4 separate regions of the Homo sapiens genome follow, and all the other regions are linked to region 2. The links are contacts of gene promoters, found by promoter capture Hi-C in blood cells and fetal thymus (Javierre and others, 2016). All regions are on one chromosome and are shown on one strand. Each heading gives the region's core, a stretch centred on a gene start or on the middle of the fragment in contact. The rest is flanking DNA. Distances are from core to core; before and after follow the strand shown. Region 1 overlaps NUP210L (nucleoporin 210 like). Region 2 holds the start of SLC27A3 (solute carrier family 27 member 3). Region 3 holds the start of S100A16 (S100 calcium binding protein A16). Region 4 overlaps CHTOP (chromatin target of PRMT1).

Region 1 (2,758 bases), core at 165-2,664, 230 kb after region 2:
CATTCTTTCTTCTTTTCCTCTCTAGATTATAAATAGGAATCTCTGATGCTTACCTGCACCCAACTTATCTTTCATAGCCCTCACTACCACTGCCTCACTTTGACTGGTGAGTACACAGGAAATATTGATGAAAACAGGTGATGCCATTTGCTGGAAGGAAGTGAAGTTGACCACTCTTACAGAGTAAATGGCCAGGCCAGGAGTGAGGGGAGAGTGGCTATGGCCAGCGACCACTAGAACTGGGGAGCTGGAGATGACCTTGGAGAAAAGATAAAACCTTTTATTTAAAAGAAGAAAAATCAACTTTGTATCAGTATGTTCCAATCTGAAACATATACAGTACAATAATTGTCAAGATCTGGATTTCTAGCTAGCTAGCCGACAATCAAATCATTTACTTTTTTGTTGTTGTTGAGAGGGAGTCTCGCTCTGTCACCCAGGCTGGAGTGCAGTGGCGCGATCTCAGCTCCCTGCAACCTCTGCCTCCCGGGTTCAAGCAATTTTCCTGCCTCAGCCTCCCGAGTAGCTGGGACTACAGGTGTCCGCCACCACGTCCAGCTAATTTTTGTACTTTTAGTAGAGAAGAGGTTTCACCATGTTGGCCAGGATGGTCTTGATCTGTTGACCTTGTGATCCACCCACTTTGGCCTCCCAAAGTGCTGGGATTACAGGCATGAGCCACCGCGCTCGGCCAATCATTTACTTTTTTTACTCCTTTAGGTATGTTGACAAAGCTTATGACCTAGATTTTGGACTCTGGGAGCCTGCCTGGCATTATGAAGGAGATGGGTTTTCTTCATTTGATTTTGTCATTTCCTATGGTAATTTTTATTAGGTCACTCAGTAACTTCTTTTGCCCTTGAAGTGAGAATGAAAACTATCTTTTCAAATTCCTGATCTCTTGTTCTGTTTTGGTTCAGTTCTTAACATACCTCTAGCTTCCTAAGAACTCTGTCCACTCCCAGTACTCTTATCTCCCCGATATCTTGTTTGTGGCTAAGAACCAATTCTGACTGGTTAATATAAAAGGCTGGGATGAAAGGAATGAGGATTCGTTGCATTCCATTCTTGCTACGTTCACTGACCAGTGTAGCCCACCCATAGACTGAGGTGTCAGCCACACTGAGGGCCTGTAGCAGCTCCTCTGACTGCGGTCGAACCTTGATTATGCAGACATAAACCCCTGGAAAAAAAAGAGGAAAAACTGAGCAGGAAGGTTCAGAGGCTCTATTGAGCCAACTGAATTAGGATAGGAAGGGAAAATTGTGACATGCAAATTCAGCAAAAGAGAAAATGTGAATTTAGTTTTGAGTATTCAATATCAGCACAATATTGGCCACTACGAGGAGGATGCCAAATAAAAAGAAAAATACTCCTAGAGAAACCACAACTAAACTTGTTTTCTGAGAATACCATTCTTTCTTTTTTTTGGAGACAGGGTCTCACTGTGTCGTGCAGGCTAGAGCACAGTGGCGTGATCATGGCATTCTGCAGCCCGACCTCCCAGGCTCTGGCGATCCTCCCACCTCAGCCTCCCGAGTAGCTGGGATTACAGGCATGAGCCACTGTGCCTGGCTAATTTTTGTATTTTTTAGCTGAGGTGGGTGGATCACAAGGTCAAGAGTTCGAGACCAGCCTGGCCAACATGGTGAAACCCCCATCTCTACTAAAAATACGAGGATTAGCCGGGTGTGATGGTGGGTACCTGTAATCCCAGCTACTTGGGAGACTGAGGCAGGGAAATTGCTTGAGATGGACGTTGCAGTGAGCTGAGATCACACCACTGCATTCCAGCTTGGGGACAGAGCAAGACTCCGTCTCAAAAAAAAAAATTATATTTTTTATAGAGAAGGGACTTCATTATGTTGCCCAGGCTGGTCTCAAACTCCTGGGCTCAAGCGATCCTCCTGCCTTGGCCTCCCAAAGTGCTGGGTTTACAGGCGTGAGAAACTGCTCCCTGGCTAAGAATACCATTCTTATTCAACATGTCAGGGAATATTAAATGATATAACACAAGCAGGGCAATTAAGAGCTGGGGATATAGAATGAAGTAGTCAGTGCTGGTGAACTCAGGAAAGGGTTTGTGAAAGACAGACAAGCTTTGAGCATCATTAATAACTTATGTATCAGACCACCTCTTGGTGTCATTATTTTTATCAATGGTAGGAACTGTTTTTCCAGTTACCCATGATTAATCCTTAGCTGTCTTTTTTTTTTTTTTTTAAAGAGACAGAATTTCACACTGTTGCCCAGGCTGGAGTGCAGTGGTGCAATTCTACCTCACTGCAGCCTTAAACTCCTGGGCTCAAGTAATCCTCCCACCTCAGCCTCCCAGGCAGCTAGGACTCCAGGCATGTGCCACCATGCCTGGCTAATTTTTAATTTTTATTTATTGCTATTATTATTATTTTATATATATTTTTGAGACAGAGTCTCGCCCTGTTGCCCAGGCTAGAGTGCAGTGGCGCAATCTCAGCTCACTGCAAGCTCTGCCTCCCAGGTTCACGCCATTCTCCTGCCTCAGCCTCCCAAGTAGCTGGGACTACAGGCGCCTGCCACCACATCCGGCTAATTTTTGTATTTTTAGTAGAGACGAGGTTTTACCTTGTTAGCCAGGATGGTCTCGATCTCCTGACCTCGTGATCCTCCCACCTCAGCCTCCCAAAGTGCTGGGATTACAGGCGTGAGCCACCATGCCTGGACTATTTATTATTTTTGTAGAGACAGAGTCTTGCTCTTGCCCAGGCCGGACTGCAGT
Region 2 (2,700 bases), core at 26-2,525:
TTGATTTGATTGGCACCCCTACTTGTAACCGCAGAACATCCCCCTTTCCCTTCCTGTTCTGCCCCCACTTTTGTCTAGAGCAGAAGGGACTTGGCTTTGGCCACTACCCATCCTTCCTGCTGCCACTGGAGGTGGGAGCCAGGCACTGATCTGTCTATGCAGAACCATCCCCCGTAGGATGAGGCCTGTCCTTACTCATTTCTCAAGAAACAAGATGCTTCCAAAAGGTCTGTCATCCTCCAGTTGAAGTCTGTGTGCCTACCAAGAATGGCCGGAGGACTCGCTGCTTGACGGGAGGGATGCTCCAGCTTGGTCTCCAGGGACAACTGTACCTGGAGATAAAGTCTGGATACCAGGGAGGGACAGAGATGCTCTTCCTTCCACAGTGTGGCCACTTGCTGGGCCATGTGAACCAGCAGAGGAGAGTTCCTTGGCTATGCTGTTGTTCCCCCGCTGTCCAGGGAGAATGGAGGTGGACTGAGGAGTGAAGTTTGGGCGAACTGCACAGAGCTGCTCCTCTTCACCCCGAAAATTTGTCTTTTTACAGAATCCAGGTTCTCCCCTCCCTCATCACTGCTGTTGCTTCCTTTGAAAGTCTAAACCACTGGAGGCTTCTTTTTCCTTCCTCTCTCCTTCCCCAGTTTCCTCTGTCCCAATTAAAACCAGGATGGAGAGCATTTGCTGGCTGGCCCCAATTATTGTACCCTTGCCCAAAGGGAGGGGCCTCTGTCGTGACCCCTCAGAAATCTGGCAGTCTGGGTTTCCACCTTTCCCCTATTTAACTCTCAGCCCCCACCCATCCCCTGGGGTTGCGGCTGGCAGGCCGGGACTTGCAGAACCAAATGGGCCAGGGGCCAAGTTCATTCTTTTGGGAGAGAGCAATGGTACCTTCCCTTAACGGGAAAACGAGAAATATTGAGGGGAAGATGGACTGCGATCCAAACGCCCTGGCTCTCAGGCCTGGACTCTAGGGCTTAGCCAGATGCCTAAACCGCCCAAGCCGAGAAACAACTTAGAAGACAGACATAACCCTGGGATTCAGGGAAGGCGCGAGCACCGCCCAGGACCTGGTAGGGTGCGAGCCGCGAGCAGTCCGGGAGGGAGCGCGCCTAGGGCGGAGCGTAGGCTGTGGGGGGAGGGCTGGGAGTCCGGGGCCGCCCCACACCCGCACTCCTCCCGGGTTTCTGCTCTCCGCCCGTGTGGAGTGGTGGGGGCCTGGGTGGGAATGGGCGTGTGCCAGCGCACGCGCGCTCCCTGGAAGGAGAAGTCTCAGCTAGAACGAGCGGCCCTAGGTTTTCGGAAGGGAGGATCAGGGATGTTTGCGAGCGGCTGGAACCAGACGGTGCCGATAGAGGAAGCGGGCTCCATGGCTGCCCTCCTGCTGCTGCCCCTGCTGCTGTTGCTACCGCTGCTGCTGCTGAAGCTACACCTCTGGCCGCAGTTGCGCTGGCTTCCGGCGGACTTGGCCTTTGCGGTGCGAGCTCTGTGCTGCAAAAGGGCTCTTCGAGCTCGCGCCCTGGCCGCGGCTGCCGCCGACCCGGAAGGTCCCGAGGGGGGCTGCAGCCTGGCCTGGCGCCTCGCGGAACTGGCCCAGCAGCGCGCCGCGCACACCTTTCTCATTCACGGCTCGCGGCGCTTTAGCTACTCAGAGGCGGAGCGCGAGAGTAACAGGGCTGCACGCGCCTTCCTACGTGCGCTAGGCTGGGACTGGGGACCCGACGGCGGCGACAGCGGCGAGGGGAGCGCTGGAGAAGGCGAGCGGGCAGCGCCGGGAGCCGGAGATGCAGCGGCCGGAAGCGGCGCGGAGTTTGCCGGAGGGGACGGTGCCGCCAGAGGTGGAGGAGCCGCCGCCCCTCTGTCACCTGGAGCAACTGTGGCGCTGCTCCTCCCCGCTGGCCCAGAGTTTCTGTGGCTCTGGTTCGGGCTGGCCAAGGCCGGCCTGCGCACTGCCTTTGTGCCCACCGCCCTGCGCCGGGGCCCCCTGCTGCACTGCCTCCGCAGCTGCGGCGCGCGCGCGCTGGTGCTGGCGCCAGGTAAGGCTGGAGCTCCGAACTGACTAAGGCGGGGCCAGCCACAGAAGGGGGCGTGTCGGAGACCACAGAAAGGCTTGGTCTCATCCCTGGGCCTGGGAAGAAGCCGACTATCCCTTGGGGTTCGAAAGTGGGTGGAGATAGGAGTCTCCGGGTTTGAGAAGGGATGAGGCTGAATCTTTGGTGCCCCAAGGATCCCCAAGGAGTCGAGTTCCAGGCCTCAGACCCAAGATGGAATGTCCATACCCTTCACCCTCATCCAAGAGCAGTGTGGGCTGGGATAGGGAGGGGACATGGGTCATAGGCTCTTCTAGGTAGAGCCAGGGCCCCGGCGTTGTGCTTTCCCACCCTTCTAGAGTTTCTGGAGTCCCTGGAGCCGGACCTGCCCGCCCTGAGAGCCATGGGGCTCCACCTGTGGGCTGCAGGCCCAGGAACCCACCCTGCTGGAATTAGCGATTTGCTGGCTGAAGTGTCCGCTGAAGTGGATGGGCCAGTGCCAGGATACCTCTCTTCCCCCCAGAGCATAACAGACACGTGCCTGTACATCTTCACCTCTGGCACCACGGGTGAGGGCCGGGCACCATACTTAGCTCCCCGAAACCAAGGCAGAGGAAGGCAGGGGTCTGCTCCCAGACCACTCCTTCAAAGCCCCCAGAGAGGATGCTGATTT
Region 3 (2,700 bases), core at 188-2,687, 160 kb before region 2:
AACTGGGCTGACAATGCCACCTCTATCAGCAAGGCTGTTTCAAATGAAATTTCTCCAGCCTCAGCTGTTCCATTCTCTGCTCCTTCCTGTGTTCTTTCTCCAATTCCACAAGGCCCTCTCCAGGAACAGCTCCCGGAGCATAGTGGGGCCTGCTTGGCCCTGCCTCACCCCTTACCATCCTCACAGGATTCTGCGTCTAACTCTCTTTGTCTCTCTCTCACACACACACACACACACACACACACACACACACCGAGCAAGGACCTCGGCCATTCCTGATCCCCTCTGCTTGGGTGACCCATCACCCTTCCACTCACTTCAGTTCTTGGAGCAAGAAGCCAGCCTCTGAAATTTTTCCAGGCAAGTGAAGTTGGAGGAGTTCAGTGTGGATCTTGCCCCCGCCTCCCCCAACACACACACAGCTACCCCAGCCTCAACAACACTTACTAGAATGTGGGGAAAGGCAGAGCCAGCTCCCCAGCACCCCTGCCCTCACCACCATCCCCACTGGGCTGGGCAGGGGAAGGCTCCCATAGTGCAGGTGGCTCTGCCAAGAAAAGCAGCTCAAGCCGGGGCCTGCCTGGGTCCTGAGGTGGAGGAGCTGCCGAGGTTCAGCCCCCCTCTCTCTATCTTTCCCTCTCCCAGGGAGCTTGCAGGCTCCCCACAGCCTCACTCGGGTTCCTCCCAGATCTCATCATCCCTCTCAAGGAACAGCTCCTGGAACACAGTGGGGTCTGCTTGGGTCGTGAGGTAGAGGGGACGCCACCTCAGCCCCCGCCTCCTCTTCTCGGAATCTCAGGCTCCCTGGAAACTGCCTGGTTCCTTCTGGACCCCATCACCTCCCCTAGGACACAGCTCCCAGAGCCCAGCAAGGCCTGTGTCCAAGCTCTGACCACCCCCAACCCAGACCAACACGCATTTGTCCTCTCCTTTTGGGGAGGATCGAGTAGCTGTGGTCAAAGCTTCCAAATACTCTGCCCCTGGAGAGGAGCTCCGTCAGCTGCTGCGGCAGGGAGGGGGTCTCACCATCCCATCCATCCCTCTAAAGGCCTCACCCAGCCCCCAACCCCCCAGGACTCCCCATTCCTAAACTGGCCTGTGGGAGAAAGTTAATAATTACCAAAATCTTCCTGCCTGCTCTCTGGCAGGCCCCTCTCCCCAGGCCCCCTTCACTGCCCCTTCTCCTGGCCTCCCAATACTGTGGGGCCCTCCGGCAGCCGAAGACCTCCCAGGCCGGGCCCAGGGTGCTCACCTGCTGCCTCAGTCTGCCTCCTCTCCAGCAGGGCTCTGGGGCCTGGGCTCTGGCACTGCCAAGCAGCTCCCTGCGCTCAGCCCAGCCGGGACTCCTCCCCGCTGCACTCCCAGAATCTGTCCCACTCCCTCCCAGCCCTGCCCGCTGAGCTGGCTCGGTGGGGAGATAGTGGCTGAGCTCCTTCTTGACTTGGCCCTGGGGTTGGGCCCTTGTTAAAGGGATACACACCTTTTTTCACACCCCTCTACCCCCATCCCAGAGGGAGTGGTGAAAACTGGCACTCCCCCAACCCCACCCTCCCAGCCCCGCAGGGGCTGAGCAGAACCTGACAGGGTAGAGAAAGGAAGGGAAGGACTATCACCTGCCTTTCTCACCTGGGTCACTGGGATCCCAGTTTCAGGGGCTCCCAACAGACAAGTTCAGTTAACATTCCAGGCCAGCCTAACTGGCCACAGAAACCTCCTTGCCACTGGGGTTTCAGGAGTAACGCCCGACTTCTGTGCTCAAATCAGAAGGCAGATGCCAGGGACCTGTCTGGCTCCCTGGTCTTCTGTCTCTAGTCTGACCCATCAGCTCTACTGAGACCCAGCCCTAAGATCCCTCATGTACACCAGAAGACTCCTCTGGAAACTCCCCACACCCCACCGTTTCCCTAAGATACCCAAGGAAACTGGCCAGCTCGACCTCCCTACACTAGGGCAGCAGCTGAAACCAAAGAGGGGCCCACTTGCCCACTCCAGCGGGAATGATATTGGGTCACTGGGCACTCACCATGTGTCAGGCTCTCTGTAAGTGCTTTACATGATGTGTGGCATTGTCCTCCTGGCAATCCTGTGGAAGTAATATTCATATCCCCCATTTTACAGATGAGGAAACTGATACTAAGAGCATGCCCAAAATTCCAATGATAAGTGGCAGATCTGAGATTCAAACTCAGGCCAGTCAGCCTGTTTCTAACCGCCCCCCACCCCCACCCACCCCATTTCCCTGGTTGTGCCAGCCAGGGCTCAGAACACCTGGACTAATATCCTTTTCCCCAAGTGTGCACACATACCCTCCTCTCCTATAAGAGGGCCCGCCCATTGGCAAAGAGGAGCCTGTCCCTCAGAGAGGACCATGTTGCCCTTTTGGACCTGGTACCACCCTCAACCCAAACCCATAGGGAAAAGTGAGTCCCCATTCACTTCCACAGCCAACCACTCCAGCCCCACGTGCCCCACCCTACCAATGACTTTGCCTTTCACCCCCAAGCTCCTCTCACCCGTGGACCCTCAGGGAGGGGGTGTCCAGTCAAGACAACATGTTTCACTTTTTTCATTTTTTTTTATTAATCAAATGATACAAAACAACCATCATTCTGTCAATGCCCAAGCACCCAGCTGGTCCTCTCCCCACATGTCACACTCTCCTCAGCCTCTCCCCCAACCCTGCTCTCCCTCCTCCCCTGC
Region 4 (2,700 bases), core at 169-2,668, 140 kb before region 2:
GGTTGCAGTGAGCCAAGATCCTGCCACTGCACTCCAGCCAGGGCAACAGAGGACAGAGTGAGGCTCCGTTTCAAAAAAAAGAATGCCTTTGATCAGTGATTTCATTAAGTTGACTTTCGACCACTGAAATTTACTTAATGTCTATTTTTGCCTCTTCTGAGGCATATGTGCTTCTCTCCTTATCTCTTTGGCTATGATAAGCTAATTATTTATGTTTGCATAATATTTATGTTTGCATGTTAGTGACATATATTTTAAAATGTGATACACTCCTGTAATTTATGAGAGTATGTTCATTGCTGTGAGCTTTGAAGGTGCTCTAATCCTTCCTCATATTTGGCCTTAGAATGCACCTCGGATCCCCCAAGGTTTAGGCTTTCTTCATTTGTCTTTGAAACTATATCTTCTGTCTCTTGTCATATCTGCTTATTGCGTGTTTTTCATACCTTCCACCTCTCTAAAAGCCGTTACCTGAGCCCTCGTTATCACTTTTGGTTGAATGTGCTGCACTTAGCTGCATTTCTAAGTTTCTGATTCTTGCAAGTTTGTGGAAACAGAGGAGTCTTTAACCCACATCAGCCTTGATCTAAGTGTACCACTTTACTTAAAAGTTCGTGGGATCTGGAGCTCCTGGTCTAGCAAGCCATGAAAATGCCAATAAATGTTTGTAATAAAGCTTTTATTTAAACATCCATTTTGTTCGACCTTGAAGCTTTACTAATATGCTGAAGAACAAACAGCCGACGCCAGTGAATATTCGGGCTTCGATGCAGCAACAACAGCAGCTAGCCAGTGCCAGAAACAGAAGACTGGCCCAGCAGATGGAGAATAGACCCTCTGTCCAGGCAGCATTAAAACTTAAGCAGGTGAGAGAATGGGTCTTAATGCTCCAGAAGCAGCTGGTGATCTCTGTGAGGGAGTCCACTGAGGCTGTCAGGACGTGATGGATGATTGCAAAGTGGCTCAGGGCAAAAAGCTGAAACTTCTCTGGAAGAAAGAGAAGTTCAGAGAATTCCAATTTTGGCAGGTACCAATAAGTAACTTTTTACTGTCTTTCTCTTTTAGGGAGTTTGCCATCTATGTGGCCTGTTTCTGTTACCAATGAGTATTAATCTTTTGTTTTCTGATCCTTAACCCTTAACATAGATTAATGGCTTATTCCACAAAGAAACTTTATTTCAGCTTTAGATAATCTCACAGCATCCTTTACTCTCTGTTAAATGATTTACCCAACAGGGAAATAATTTTATTCTTTTTCCCATAGTGCAGGGAGTTTGCATGGCCTTAGTCAAAGGTTTTCTTTTTTTTTTTTTTTTTAGACGGAGTCTTGCTCTGTCGCCCAGGCTGGAGTGCAGTGGCACGATCTCGGCTCACTGCAAGCTCCGCCTCCCGGGTCCATACCATTCTCCTGCCTCAGCCTCCCGAACAGCTGGGACTAAAGGTGCCCGCCACCACACCCAGCTAATTTTTTTGTATATTTAATAGAGACAGGGTTTCACCATACTAGCCAGGATGGTCTCGATCTCCTGACCTCGTGATCCACCCGCCTCGGCCTCCCAAAGTGCTGGGATTACAGGCTTGAGCCACCGCGCCCAGCAGTCAAAGGTTTTCAATGCTAAAATATACAGAGTAGAGTGACCCTCATTTCCACAGCACCTAAAGTTTTACCAGTAAAGTGGAGCAAGAATACTGAGTAATTTGAGTTAGGGGTTCTCTTTTTCAAATTTACAGTGAGAGATAATCCTATTCAGACCTGAAATAAAACCTGCTCTTTATTATTCATAGAATTTATATGCAAGTCCGGACAGTGGCTGTGGAAGGATATGTCCAAGCTGTGGCTGGGCGTCTGGAGGGCAGTGCCATGCAACTGTAAGGGCTTTGGTAGCATTGCATGGCTATGCATAAATTCAGCAGTTAAATATAACACCCTTACACCCCCACCCTGAACCATTGGGCTCACTGACCAAAAATAAACAAGGGTGTCTGCTTCGGCTACCTTAAGCCTTGGAGTGACTGGATTCCTCCCTGACTCAGGAAAGCAGCAAAAGGCACCATTTTCCAAGAGTAAATGGAAGTTGCTGAAGATGAATCTCTGACAGATCATTCCAAAGGACCTTTCAACAAGAAGCTTTAAGTATAGGCTCTGCAGGAAGTAGTCCCTATCCAGAGTAGTACTATTAAATAGAATTTTTTTATGTTTTTGGTTTGGTTTGGTTTGGTTTGTTTTGAGACGGAGTCTTGCTCTGTCACCCAGGCTGTAGTGCAGTGGTGCAATCTCAACTCACTGCAGCCTCCGCCTCCCGGGTTCAAGCGATTCTCCTGTCTCAGCTACAGGCGCCCGCCACCACACCCGGCTAATTTTTGTATTTTTAGTAGAGACGGAGTTTTGTCATGTTGGCCAGACTGGTCTTGAACTCCTGACCTCAAGTGATCTGCCTGCCTCAGTATCCCAAAGTGTTCAGATTACAGGCATGAGCTACCGTGCCCAGCCAGAACTTTCTACAATGATGGAAATGTTCTGTATTTGCTCTCCGGTACAGTAGCCACTAGTCACATGTGGCTATTGAAAACTTTAAATGTGACTAGTGCAATTAAGGAGCTTAATTTTTTTTAATTTAATTTTAGGCCAGGCCTGTAATCCCAGCACTCTGGGAGGCCAAGGCAGGCGGATCACTTGAGGTCAGGAGTTTGAGACTAGCC

Evidence for each region. Contacts are between HindIII fragments. The CHiCAGO score rates a contact against its expected background, and 5 or more counts as called.
Region 1: a contact is called between a fragment that was not itself captured here and the fragment with the promoter of SLC27A3 in region 2, in 11 of 17 cell types (total CD4 T cells, activated CD4 T cells, naive B cells and 8 more). The highest score is 10.1, in total CD4 T cells.
Region 3: a contact is called between the fragment with the promoter of S100A16 here and the fragment with the promoter of SLC27A3 in region 2, in 2 of 17 cell types (M2 macrophages and M0 macrophages). The highest score is 6.1, in M2 macrophages.
Region 4: a fragment that was not itself captured here is called in contact with the fragment with the promoter of SLC27A3 in region 2 in 4 of 17 cell types (M0 macrophages, endothelial precursors, M1 macrophages and 1 more); the score reaches 7.4 in M0 macrophages.

Annotation. Positions count from the first base shown.
Region 1 is chr1:154,000,803-154,003,560 of GRCh38, forward strand. It overlaps NUP210L (nucleoporin 210 like), which reads right to left. Exons shown (of 40, transcript NM_207308.3): 36 at 933-1,183; 37 at 54-258. Among named protein-coding and RNA genes, the nearest start is that of RPS27, 11 kb to the left of the region's middle. The HindIII fragment of the contact is 1,365 bases long and covers 733-2,097 here.
Region 2 is chr1:153,774,132-153,776,831 of GRCh38, forward strand. SLC27A3 (solute carrier family 27 member 3) reads left to right here and starts at 1,276. Exons shown (of 10, transcript NM_024330.4): 1 at 1,276-2,033; 2 at 2,387-2,596. The coding sequence starts at 1,367. INTS3 (integrator complex subunit 3) reads left to right here. Exons shown (of 30, transcript NM_023015.5): 30 at 1-677. RefSeq lists an enhancer at 1,677-2,343 and a silencer at 1,712-1,903. The HindIII fragment of the contact is 7,576 bases long and covers 1-2,700 here.
Region 3 is chr1:153,611,700-153,614,399 of GRCh38, forward strand. S100A16 (S100 calcium binding protein A16) reads right to left here and starts at 1,438. Exons shown (of 3, transcript NM_080388.3): 1 at 1,253-1,438. It overlaps S100A14 (S100 calcium binding protein A14), which reads right to left. Exons shown (of 4, transcript NM_020672.3): 4 at 2,556-2,700. The HindIII fragment of the contact is 6,157 bases long and covers 961-2,700 here.
Region 4 is chr1:153,637,583-153,640,282 of GRCh38, forward strand. CHTOP (chromatin target of PRMT1) reads left to right here. Exons shown (of 6, transcript NM_015607.4): 3 at 713-866. Among named protein-coding and RNA genes, the nearest start is that of CHTOP, 4.9 kb to the left of the region's middle. The HindIII fragment of the contact is 1,416 bases long and covers 711-2,126 here.